Regions from separate parts of the Homo sapiens genome. Here region 1 is linked to region 2. The links are contacts of gene promoters, found by promoter capture Hi-C in blood cells and fetal thymus (Javierre and others, 2016). All regions are on one chromosome and are shown on one strand. Each heading gives the region's core, a stretch centred on a gene start or on the middle of the fragment in contact. The rest is flanking DNA. Distances are from core to core; before and after follow the strand shown.

Region 1 (4,213 bases), core at 1,115-3,614, 510 kb after region 2:
AGGCGGGGGGTTTTGTTTCCTAGCAATAGGCGTGCTGGAGCTCTGGGTGCTGGCCACCAACTTCAGAGACTATGCCATCATCTTCACTCAGCTGGAGTTCGGGGACGAGCCCTTCAACACCGTGGAGCTGTACAGTAAGTGTGCTGTGCGGGGCCCACGTAGGGAGCTGTGTGGTGCGTGGGCCACTCGGGGCCCACGTTGGGAGCTGTGTGGTGCGTGGGCCGCTTGGGGGCCGCGTGGGGAGCTGTGTGGTGAGTGGGCCGCTCGGGGGCCATGTGGGGAGCTGTGTGGTGAGTGGGCCGCTTGGGGCCACATGGGGAGCTGTGTGGTGAGTGGGCCGCTCGGGGGCCATGTGGGGAGCTGTGTGGTGGGTGGGCCGCACAGGACCACATGCAGGCCAAGTTCCCCCACCTTGAGGCTCGCTGCACTGGAGGTGGCTTTGGAAGGACCGGGGCCAGCATCCCAGGGCAGGTGGCCTCCTTCCTGACCCTTCCCAGCCCCTCCCCGGCCCCTCCCCAGCTCTCAGAGGTTGCTTCCCCCTGCACTGCCCTGGTGCCCCCAGGTCTGACGGAGACAGCCAGCCAGGAGGCCATGGGGCTCTTCACCAAGTGGAGCAGGAGCCTGGGCTTCCTGTCACAGTAGCAGGCCCAGCTGCAGAAGGACCGTGAGTGTCCACCGGAGCAGCCTCGGGGGAGGCTTGGGGCAAGTTCTGGAGCCCACAGGGCGTGATGGGGTGACAGAGACCCTGGGGTTGATTCTGGCTTCTGCCTGACTCAGTCGCCCTGAAGGAGTCAGGCAGGCTGAGGGGGTCTTCACCTGCCCCTGCCCAAAGTCAGGCCTGGGGGTCTTGTCCCCACGGCAGGCGAGTCTTGTGGGTGGGGCCCTGGGGTGCTGGGGGGCTCAGTCCTTTTTCACAGCCAGTCTTGCCTCCCCTTCTAGTCACCTGTGCTCACAAGATCCTTCTGGTAAGCCGCCATCCTGAGCCTCACCCTGGGCTCTCTTGGGGGAAGGGGGTGGGGGAGGCCACCCTACGCACAGTGGGTGGGAGGACCCTCTGCCCAAGCCCACGGGGTTCATGGCTCCACTGTCTCTAAGGCAGCTGAGGGTGTGGAGGAGCCTCCATGGTGGGCTGGGCCCCCTCACACTCCTCTTGGTTTTCAGTGAGTGCTGCGTCCCCAGTAGGGATGGCGCCCACAGGGTCCTGTGACCTCGGCCAGTGTCCACCCACCTCGCTCAGCGGCTCCCGGGGCCCAGCACCAGCTCAGAATAAAGCGATTCCACAGCAAACCAAGGATGCTTTTGACTGGGGGCCAGCCGGGGAATTGCGGGGAGGATGGCGGGGGTCGTCACCAAGGGCCAAGCCACAGAACCATAGAGCCAGCTGCAAAGAAGACGCGTGCCCAACCCAGTCCCTTGCCAGAGCCCCTCTGGGTCTTCAGACACCCAAACTCAGGCCCGGGCTCAGAGGCGGGGGCTGGTCAGAGGACACAGCCTGGGAGGAAGCCAGCAGTGAGCTCCACCAGGACCGCAGCTGGGGTGCCAGAGGCTCCAAGGACTGCCCAGGACAAGAGAGAGGTGGCTGGTGGGGCTCAGAGCAGCCCCTGACTCCCCAGGCTCAGGCTTCTCTGGGCTGGGGTTGTGTCTCTTGCCTGGGCAGGGGCAGGGACCCCAGACACCTGAGCCTGCAGGTCCTCCTGTGTTCTGATGGGTGTGGGGGGCTGCGCTGCCTGCCGTCCTGGGAGAAGCACAGGCCATGGGGGTCTCGGGGCTGGATGGGGGGCTGGGGACTGTGTGAGGCTCATGCTGGAGTGAGGCGAGGTGCACACAGATGCCTTGACCTGCAAGGCTGGGCATGCACACGCATGCACATGTGAGCACACACCCACACATGCACACACACACATTCATGGGCACGGGCACACAGCCCCGGCCCGCCCTTCGGCACCTGCTCAGGTGCTTGGTGCCAGGCCCTCAAGAAGGTGGTGGGGGCTGTGTGTGTGGCTGCCGCGCAGAGCTCACCATGTCCACATCTGCCCCAGAAGGGCCACGACCAGCCCTTTGCCTGTCACCTGGGAGGTCTAGGATGAGGGCCAGGGCTTAATGAGTCTCAGGGGCACACACAGTGACCCCAGGCCGGGCACTGAGGGCAGGAGGGTCCTGGGGCCTCAGAGGGGCCTCTGTCTGCCAGGGCAGCCCAGGCCAGCAGTGACCACCAGGTGGGGCAGTGCCGGCTTCCCTGGAGTGTCTGGGGGTGGTCCCTGGGCGGGGAGAGGGTAGCAGAGCCCAAGGCCACACCTGTTGCCTCCCTCCGCTCCCTCCCCTCCCTCCTCTCCCGACACAGGCTGGCGGCTCCAGAGAGGTTTAAACACTGGCCTTGGCGGCTGAGGGAGGAGGGTGAAGATGAGGCAGGGGCTGCTGGTGCTGGCGCTGGTGCTGGTGCTGGTGCTAGTGCTGGCTGCAGGGTCCCAGGTGCAGGAGTGGTACCCCAGGGAGTCCCACGCCCTCAACTGGAACAAGGTGAGCCATGTGCCACTGGTCCCTGAGCCGGGCGCCGGCTCTGGAGCTGGAGCAGGCTCCTGCACAGTCTCCCGGCAGCCGCCCAGGAGCAGGGCTACCAGCAGTTCCAGGCACGGGCGCTGCCCACCTGGCCTCTCCCACTGCAGCCTCCAGCACAGGGGCCCCGCAAGTTGCAGGGCAAAGGCAGGGAGCCTCGAGGGGGTTCGGGGGCCCAGGGGGGTCAGGGAGGGCCAGGGTGGAGGGGCCCAGAGAGCTGTGGCCGAGGAGGTCGGGAGACGCCCAGAGTGCAGAGTGGGTGTGGAGCAAGCGGGGCATATTCTGTAGCGGGAGGGCCCGGGCACCTGCTGAGTGAGCCGTGGGAGCAGCACTCATTGGCACGGCGGTGCCCAGGGCGCTAGGGTTGGCAGCAGGCAGAGTTGGGGGCCGGGGGCCGGCAGGAAGGGAAGTGGCCGAGCAGTACCCAGCCCCCAGGAGGCCATGTGGGAAGGAGCCGGGGCCTCTGAGGTAGGGGGCCTCCCACCTGCTGGCGCCCACAGCCCAGCCCTTTGCTGCCTGGGGTCCCTGACCAGCCGGGCACCTGCTTCTCTGCAGCCCTGCTCCAGTGGCCAGGGCTTGAGTGGCCGGGACCGAGGCGGCACCTGGGCGGAGCTGGGACTCCGGCTCACAGAAGGGTCATTTGTCTCCTGGGTTCTCTAGCTGGGAACCTCGGGGGTGGGGACAGCCCCCGGTGGCAGCTCCTGTCCCCGCCCACACATCCGCTGCGCAGTTTTCAGGGTTCTGGTACATTCTGGCCACTGCCACTGATGCCCAGGGATTCTTGCCGGCCAGGGACAAGAGGAAGCTGGGGGCGTCCGTGGTAAAGGTGAACAAAGTGGGCCAGCTCCGCGTGCTCCTCGCCTTCAGACGGTGAGTGGGCAGCGCCCCCCAGGCAAGGGTCTCCCCTTCCAGGAGGAGGGAGCTGCCTCGGGGCTGGAAAGGAGTCTGGGAGGAGCCTGTCTGTCTGGAAGTTCCACAAGAACCGTCCCCCCACTTCCTCCCCCTAAACTCAGAGGAAGCCACCTGCAGCCCCTGGGACCCCACATGGGTGGGTGTTGGGAGGAAGCTGCCTGCAGACCTTGGGACCCCACATGGGTAGGTGTTGGGAGGAAGCCGCTTGCAGCTCCTGGGCCCCACACGGGTGGGTGTTGGGAGTTTCTCTCGTGCCGTGGGACAGGCCCCAGTCCGAATTGGAAAATCCTCAAACCACAGAGCCTCAGATTGACACGAGTTGGATAGTGAAGCAAAAAACTGGGGACCTGGGGCCCCAACCTTCCCGGGTCCCACGGGAGCAGGGGCGGGACCGAGACGTGTGGGTGGGGCTCGGTGGCTGGCAGGCGGGAGGAGGGGTTCCCTGGTCTGCAGCCTGAGCCCCCGCCTTGGCCCCAGGTTGAAGGGGTGCCAGTCCCAGGAGGTGATCCTGAGGAAAGACGGGAAGAAGCCGGTGTTTGGGAACGCCTGTGCATACGCGGCGGGCCCGAGGGAAGGACAGGAGGGAGGTGTGCTTGGGCTCTGGGCCCTGGAGGAGCTGCGTGATATGCCTCTGACCCCCCTGTGCCTTGAGCAGGCCCCTTGTCCCCGAGAGCACGTGGCAGGCAGGCGTCAGGCTGGCTGTGTTCCCAGAGCCCACACGTCATGTGCTGGGCGGCCTGGCCCGGGA
Region 2 (6,303 bases), core at 1,209-3,708:
CACCCCTGTAATCCCAGCACTTTGGGAGGCCGAGGGGGGCGGATCACCTGAGGTCAGGAGTTCAAGACCAGCCTGACCAACATGGAGAAATCCCATCTCTACTAAAAATACAAAATTAGCCGGGCGTGGTGATGCATGCCTGTAATCCCAGCTACTCGGGAGGCTGAGGCAGGAGAATTGCTTGAACCTGGGAGGCGGAGGTCGCAGTGAGCCGAGATCACGCCATTGCACTCCAGCCTGGGCAACAATAGCGAAACTCCGTCTCAAAAAAAAAAAAAAAGAAAAAGAAAAAAAATTAGCCAGGCATGGTGGCGGGCGCCTGTAGTCCCAGCTACTCGGGAGACTGAGGCAGGAGAATGGAGTGAACCCGGGAGCTTGCAGTGAGCCGAGATCACACCACTGCACTCCAGCCTGGGCAACAGAGCGAGACTCCGTCTCAAAGAAAAAGAAAAAAAGTAGGGGAGGGGGGATTAACTTCACATGAGCGGGCTTTCCGCAGATTTTAAATGTTGTCCATATATCACTTTAACGAAAAGTAAAATGCAAACAGAAAAACAACCAACTTTCTTTCCAGCATGTGTACAAGCCAGCCCTCCCCCACCACCCAGCCAAGAAGCAGAACCACCCGATCATTCACAGGGCAGCAGAGTGCTGATCCCCAGGCAGCTGAAGGCGCTAGCCGTGGCATCCCCAAGAGGTGCCCCACCCCGCACACGGCCTGTCCCCTCACCTCGCCCTGGCGCCTGGTCTTGGGGGAAGGACTGAAAAAGTTGTGCAGGACAGAGAGCTCTGTACTGAAGAGAGCGCTCTCCTTCTCCAGGATGTACTGCTTCAGGAGTGGGGAAACCTCGTCCCCGAAGAGGGCCTGGTTGTCTTGCCAGATCTGCCGCTTCACCTCCACGGCGCAGGCTCGATACAGCTCCTTGTCAGCCATAACCAGCTTCAGTTTTTTCTCCGGAACCTACATGACACCACAGGCTGCCTGTGAGTGGCACCTGTGTCCCTGGGTCTCCTTCAAGACAAGCCAAGAGGCCTCAGCCCCGCAGAGACCACCTCGAGCTAAGCTCCACCCCACAGGGCACCTATGACTGGTTCCCCGGCCCCAGCATGTCAGACAGACATGCTAAATACCAACAGCTCTTTCCCAGGAGGGGCCCCACACCCTAACTCCAGTGCTAAGGTTCGGTCTCCACGCGGCTCATGTGGGAGAAGTCAGCACAGAGCTCACCATGGACAGCACTTGGGCAGGCAGCACAGGAAGCTCCCGGAGCTAGGCGGCCACCGGAACTTCCACTAACCAAGGGCATGAGAGTGGGCGGACGGTCCACGCCATCAGGGTTAGGGTTAGGGCCCTACCTTGGGCAGGTGCTTCATGACGCACATCACCACGGGCTGCAGGGACGGCATCTTCACCAGAGAAAAGCTCTTCTCCAGAAGGTCTTCCAGCTTCTTGTACCTGGAACAACTCACAGGATTGATGGTGCAGCGATGCGCCAAATCGCAGCAGCTACCTGCCTGTCCCTACACAGATAACAGCTACCAGGACAAGCCTCCACGCCCAGGACACATGGGTCAAGGGGTCACTCAGACACAGGCCCAGGCCACCTCTGGGAGCAAGGATGTGGAGCCAAAAGGACAATAAATGCCCCTGAGTCGATCCAAGGCTGAGAGGCCGGCTGCACATCTCACCTGCCCACCCCTCCCGCTGACCCACCTTTCCTCAGCCTTCCCCTCCGAAGCGATGGCTGACACTCGCTCCAGCAGCTTGTCCCGCAGCTCATCGAATACCGACTGGTGGAACTCCAGCCGCGGCGTCCCGTGCAGGTCCAAGAAGGGGAGGGCTGACTGAAGAGATGGCAGCAGCACACCATTCTCTGTCTGAGGAAGCCAAGAGAAACCTCAAACGCAGCCCAGTGCGCCCGGGCACCCCGAGGTCCTGAGAGCACAGGGAGGCACGCACCCAGGTGTTCCCAGCCGTGCTGGCGGTAACCGCAGCCACCGAAAGCCACCCAGCCGTCCAGCAAAGGGGTGCTGGCTCCGGACTCCACCCCCAGAACAGGACTCAGCCACCAGCAGAAAGCCGGAAAACTTCCGGCGCCTCCGCCAGGCCCGACTCCCGAGCAGGCGGCCCGGCCCTCCAACTGGGCTCCCCCCGCCCCGGGGGCCGCCCCACCTGGAACTGCTCGATGGCCTTGAGCGGCTCCGTGCAGTTGGTCAGGGTCTCCTTCAGGTCCTCGCCGTTGGCCACGCCCAGGTCCTGCAGCCCCGCGAACATGGCCGAGGCCCCGGCCACCGCCCGGCTAGGCGCCCCATCCCCAGCCCGTTCCCCCGGCGCCGCCGCAGACACCCCAGAAGCCCGCTCCGCCGGGCCTCGGGGACCGCCCGAGCCCCGCTCCCCGGCGCCCTCCAGCTCGGCCAGGTCCCGCCCGCCGCGCGACTCCGCGCGCGTCCCGCAGCCGCCCACTTCCGCCCCGCACCGCCCAGGTCCGCCCGCCAACCGGCCCCCGGGAAACGCCGCCGGGGCCGCGCGCAGGTTCCTGGGAGCAGCGCCCTCACCCGGCGCGAGAGACCCCGCCCAGCCAGCCCAGCGCGCATGCGCCCACCCGGTCCCGCCCGCGCCCGGGCTTTCTGGCAGAAGAGGGCGGGTGAGGGCGTGGGGGGCGGACTCAGGGTCCGTCTGCTCCGGGAACGGACGTCGTCGCAGCCGAGTGAATTTCGTGTACATAAGCGTGGAAAACGCTCTTGCAGATCTCGCGGCAGCCACGCGCAGCGGGGACGTTTTGCCGGGGGTTGAGCTCCCCGCCCCTCTGCCCCGCAGGGGCCGGACACAGGCGCAGACTCCCTCCTGAGCGTGGGTTCCTCCGCGTGAAACGGGCACGAAGCCCACCCCGGCGCTGTCGCCAAAACTGAGATCTGAGCGCCTTCAGGGGGCCGGGGCCTGGCGGAGACCGGGCCCGCAGCGGGAGCGCGAGCGACGGCCGCCCTCCCAGGCACCGGGAGGCTGTGGCGCCCACCGAGCTCCGCGGAGCCGTGAAGGAGAGTCCAGGTTCCACAGTGTCCCTTCTTATCCCAGGCGGGTGGGCTCCCCGGGCCTCCCCGCCTCTCCAGCCCGCCGCCCTCCCGCAGGCTGTGCCGCGCCAAGCCCCCTACACACACCCTCTCTCTTTTCGGTCTCCGCTGCTGAAATTTTCTCTAGAAATTTCTTTCCCGCTGCCCAGCAAACTCTTGCTCTTCCTTGAAGGCTTCTTCCTCCACCACCTCCTCCAGGAAGCCCTCCCTCCTCAGCCCAGCTGGAGGAGATCGCTCCATCTTTCCTGCCGCTCCCACTCCTAGCTTTGGGTCTCACCAGGGGTGCCTGGTGGTGCAGCCGTGAGCAGAGCTCCTGTTCCCACAAGCCGGGCCGAGCTCCCAAGGCCATGGCTACCACAGCTCTCTTGCCGCTGGCCAAGTTGGTCAGCCCTAGGGCGAGGGTTCCAGTGCCTTGATCCAACCCCCAGCTGGTTCGGTGGCAGAGGAGGACAAGGGTCACAGCACACACACAATCCTGAGCCTGGGATTCCTCTCTGAGAAAGGGGGTGGTGCTGAGGCCACAGAAGCAGCTGCCCAGAGCCTTTTTGAAGGGGTTGAGCTCTGGGCCTGGTCTGGGTCCTGGGTCTGGGGAGGACCTGGGGAGGTGCGGGTGACGGCACCGCAGGTAAGGCTCCTGCAAGGTGGCAGCCTTGGGGCCCGACCCTGGGTAGGAGGGCAGGCCAGTGATGACAAGGGAGGCCCCAGCCAGGCGAAGTTGCAGGCAGGGGCAGTGCAGGGTCCCAGCAGGTGAAGGCCCCGGGAGTGGAGTCTGCAGGGCCCTGGGCCAGAGTGTTCAGGGCACAGGTGACTAAGCCCAGCCAGGTCTTCAGCTCAAGGCCTAGGGGAAGTGGGGCTGGGCCCTGGTGAGCAGATCCCTGGGCCCTTCCTGAGGTCTGGCCAGGCCGACCCCACCTGGAGGTGGCGGCTCAGGGCATTTGACGCCTCCTTCCCAGTTCCCTGGCTCGGCAAGCAGCTGACCCTCAGGTGGACAGCAGCTAGACCAGGCCCCTGAGTGACACGGCTGGGTGGGGGTGTCCCACAGAGCCCACCTCCCATCTCGCTCCAGGCTAGAGCTCAGGGTCAGTCACAGGCTGCCACCCTAGAGAAGAGAGCACCTTTCAGGGGCAGCTGAATGGAGACCCCTCAACAGGGAAAGCCGGAAATGACCCAGCGGCAGCCATATCTCTAGGACCGCCCCCGGGTGAAGGACAGACAACTGCACACCACAGAGCTCGGGAAAACCAACAGCATCTCAGTGTAGCGGGGAGATGGGCAGATGGGGGATCCAGGCTGGGCCAGCCTTGTCCACAGCCCATAGAAGGGTTGGCCAGCCAGAAGGGTGCATCGGGGTGCCCAGAGGGTCAGAAGGCCAGGCTGGGGCCCCAAGTCCCAGGGGAGGCCTGGGAAAGCCCCGGGGGAGGCCATGGTTCCACTCGGTGGCCGGGCCAAGCAGGTTGTGCCCAGCTGGCTCTAGAGCGTGCAGAAGGGGCCTGTGTCGTGGCGCTTGGGTCTGCGTACACCCTGGATGACCACGCCAGGCGCCGAAGGGAAGCGTGAGTTGCAGTCCTCCACGTGGTAGGCGGCTGGGCCAGGGGTTCGGGCTGCCGAAAGAGAAGGCTGGGAGCCCCACCCAGGTAGCAGCCCCAACTCAAACCTGGCTCCCAGTTCCCACCCCCGGCCCCTGAACCCTTGTCCTCACATTGCCCACCCATGCCCCATCCCTAGCCCTCTTCTCTCCAGGCCTCCTTACAGGTGCTGAGCCAGGAGGTGAACGCAGGGGAGCGGCTCATCGAGAAGGCCGGCGAGCGGGGGCTCTGCAGGCGGCTCCCAGGAAGGATATTGTAGGTGTTGGGGCCAGGGCATCTCTTGCCAGGTGCCTGCAAAGAGGCCTGAAGCAGGGACTGGGGCTGCACCCTGAGGCCCAGCCCCCTAGCCCCAGGCAGCCCTAGGTGGGTGTGGCCTTCAGGTGTCTTGGAAGCGGAGTGGCAGCCTCTGAAGCTGAAGGCGGGGAAGGCGGGCCGGCTGAGCAGCTGGTAGTGGGCTGGCGAGGGCCACTGCGAGGGGGTAGGAGACGGGCTGCAGGGCAGGGTGCTCCCCACGGACCCTCAGCCAGCCCCCCTTTGGCCCCACTGGAACCCCCAGCCCCCTGCCTGCGTGGACTCCCCGCCCCCTTCCTGCCCAGCCCCCAACCTTTTGCTCTTGGTCGAAGTCAGCTTTCTGCGTGAAGGGGCTTTCGCTCTGGAACCACAAAGTCTGCCATGCCCTGCGGCCACCGCCCTCTGTAGTTGGAGGATGGAGAGAGAGAAGGCTGGGAGCCCCACCCAGGTGACAGTCCCCACTCGAACCTGTCTCCCGGTTCCCACCCTCGGCCCCTGAACCCTTGTCTTCACAATGTCCACCCATGCCCCAGCCCTAGCCCTCCTCTCTCCAGGCCTCCTTACAGGTGCTGAGCCTAGAGGTGAACGCAGGGAAGGGTGGAGGGGCCCTCAGGCCGTGGGGGTTTCAGCACAGAGGCAAAGGCCCCCATTCCCAGGGTGAGGGACAGGCCCGGTGGTTGGGCCTCAGGGAGGGGACACACACCTCGGCCCTGGTGCTTGCAGCCGATGCTGTAGTGGGGGTGTGGGGAGGACTCTCGTACGGACGGGCTCGGCACCTGGTACCTGGTGGGGCTGGGGACTTCCAGGTCAGCTGTGATCAGGGGGCGTTGCTCCAGCACTGGCCACAGGAAGCAAGCTCTGGGCCTGGGCTCCTTTCAGCGGGCCCCTCCCACAGCCCCCCAAAGACCAGCTTGGGGGTGGGGTGGCCAGGACCCTCACTCACATAGTTCCCTCAGGGTCTGGGTGTAGGTGGGCAGGGACTCCTGGGGGGTGCCCGTCTGTAACCTGAGGCCAACTGGGATCTCCTTCATCTTTGGGGGCTGTGTCTCATCCCAGGCCATCCCCGGCTCCGGGCCCAACAACAGCACAGATGCCTTGGGCCTGCAAGGGAGACCAGCAGCCACTGTCTCAGCCCCCGGCCGCTCCCAGCCACATGCCCCACAGCCTGTCCCCTCTATTGTCCCTCAGCCCCCGGCTGCTCCCAGCCACGTGCCCCACAGCCTGTCCCCACACTGTCCCTCAGCCCCTGGCCGCTCCCAGCCGCCTGTCCCCTCTACTGTCCCTCAGCCCCTGGCCGCTCCCAGCCGCCTGCCCCACAGCCTGTCCCCACACTGTCCCTCAGTCCCCCAGCCGCCTG

What was found. The method cuts DNA at HindIII sites, captures the fragments that hold promoters and counts their contacts. A CHiCAGO score of 5 or more calls a contact.
Region 1: the fragment with the promoter of LCN10 here is called in contact with the fragment with the promoter of NELFB in region 2 in 9 of 17 cell types (naive CD8 T cells, activated CD4 T cells, total B cells and 6 more); the score reaches 9.7 in naive CD8 T cells.

What each region holds. Positions count from the first base shown.
Region 1 is chr9:136,741,091-136,745,303 of GRCh38, reverse strand. LCN10 (lipocalin 10) reads left to right here and starts at 2,364. Exons shown (of 6, transcript NM_001001712.3): 1 at 2,364-2,517; 2 at 3,284-3,423; 3 at 3,943-4,052. The coding sequence starts at 2,401. LCN6 (lipocalin 6) reads left to right here. Exons shown (of 7, transcript NM_198946.3): 4 at 24-134; 5 at 563-664; 6 at 940-965; 7 at 1,162-1,287. The coding sequence ends at 642. RefSeq lists a silencer at 2,860-2,959. The HindIII fragment of the contact is 7,084 bases long and covers 1-4,213 here.
Region 2 is chr9:137,251,482-137,257,784 of GRCh38, reverse strand. NELFB (negative elongation factor complex member B) reads right to left here and starts at 2,458. Exons shown (of 13, transcript NM_015456.5): 1 at 2,174-2,458; 2 at 1,715-1,878; 3 at 1,357-1,456; 4 at 731-961. The coding sequence starts at 2,419. STPG3 (sperm-tail PG-rich repeat containing 3) reads right to left here. Exons shown (of 6, transcript NM_001004353.4): 2 at 5,890-6,047; 3 at 5,650-5,784; 4 at 5,260-5,348; 5 at 4,820-5,123; 6 at 4,302-4,670. The coding sequence ends at 4,540. STPG3-AS1 (STPG3 antisense RNA 1) reads left to right here and starts at 4,288. Exons shown (of 4, transcript NR_038389.1): 1 at 4,288-4,622; 2 at 4,810-4,910; 3 at 5,279-5,394. It also overlaps a transcript of CIMIP2A not described here. RefSeq lists enhancers at 1,155-2,102, 2,103-3,050 and silencers at 2,061-2,120, 2,161-2,340, 2,351-2,720, 2,911-3,090. The HindIII fragment of the contact is 15,726 bases long and covers 1-6,303 here.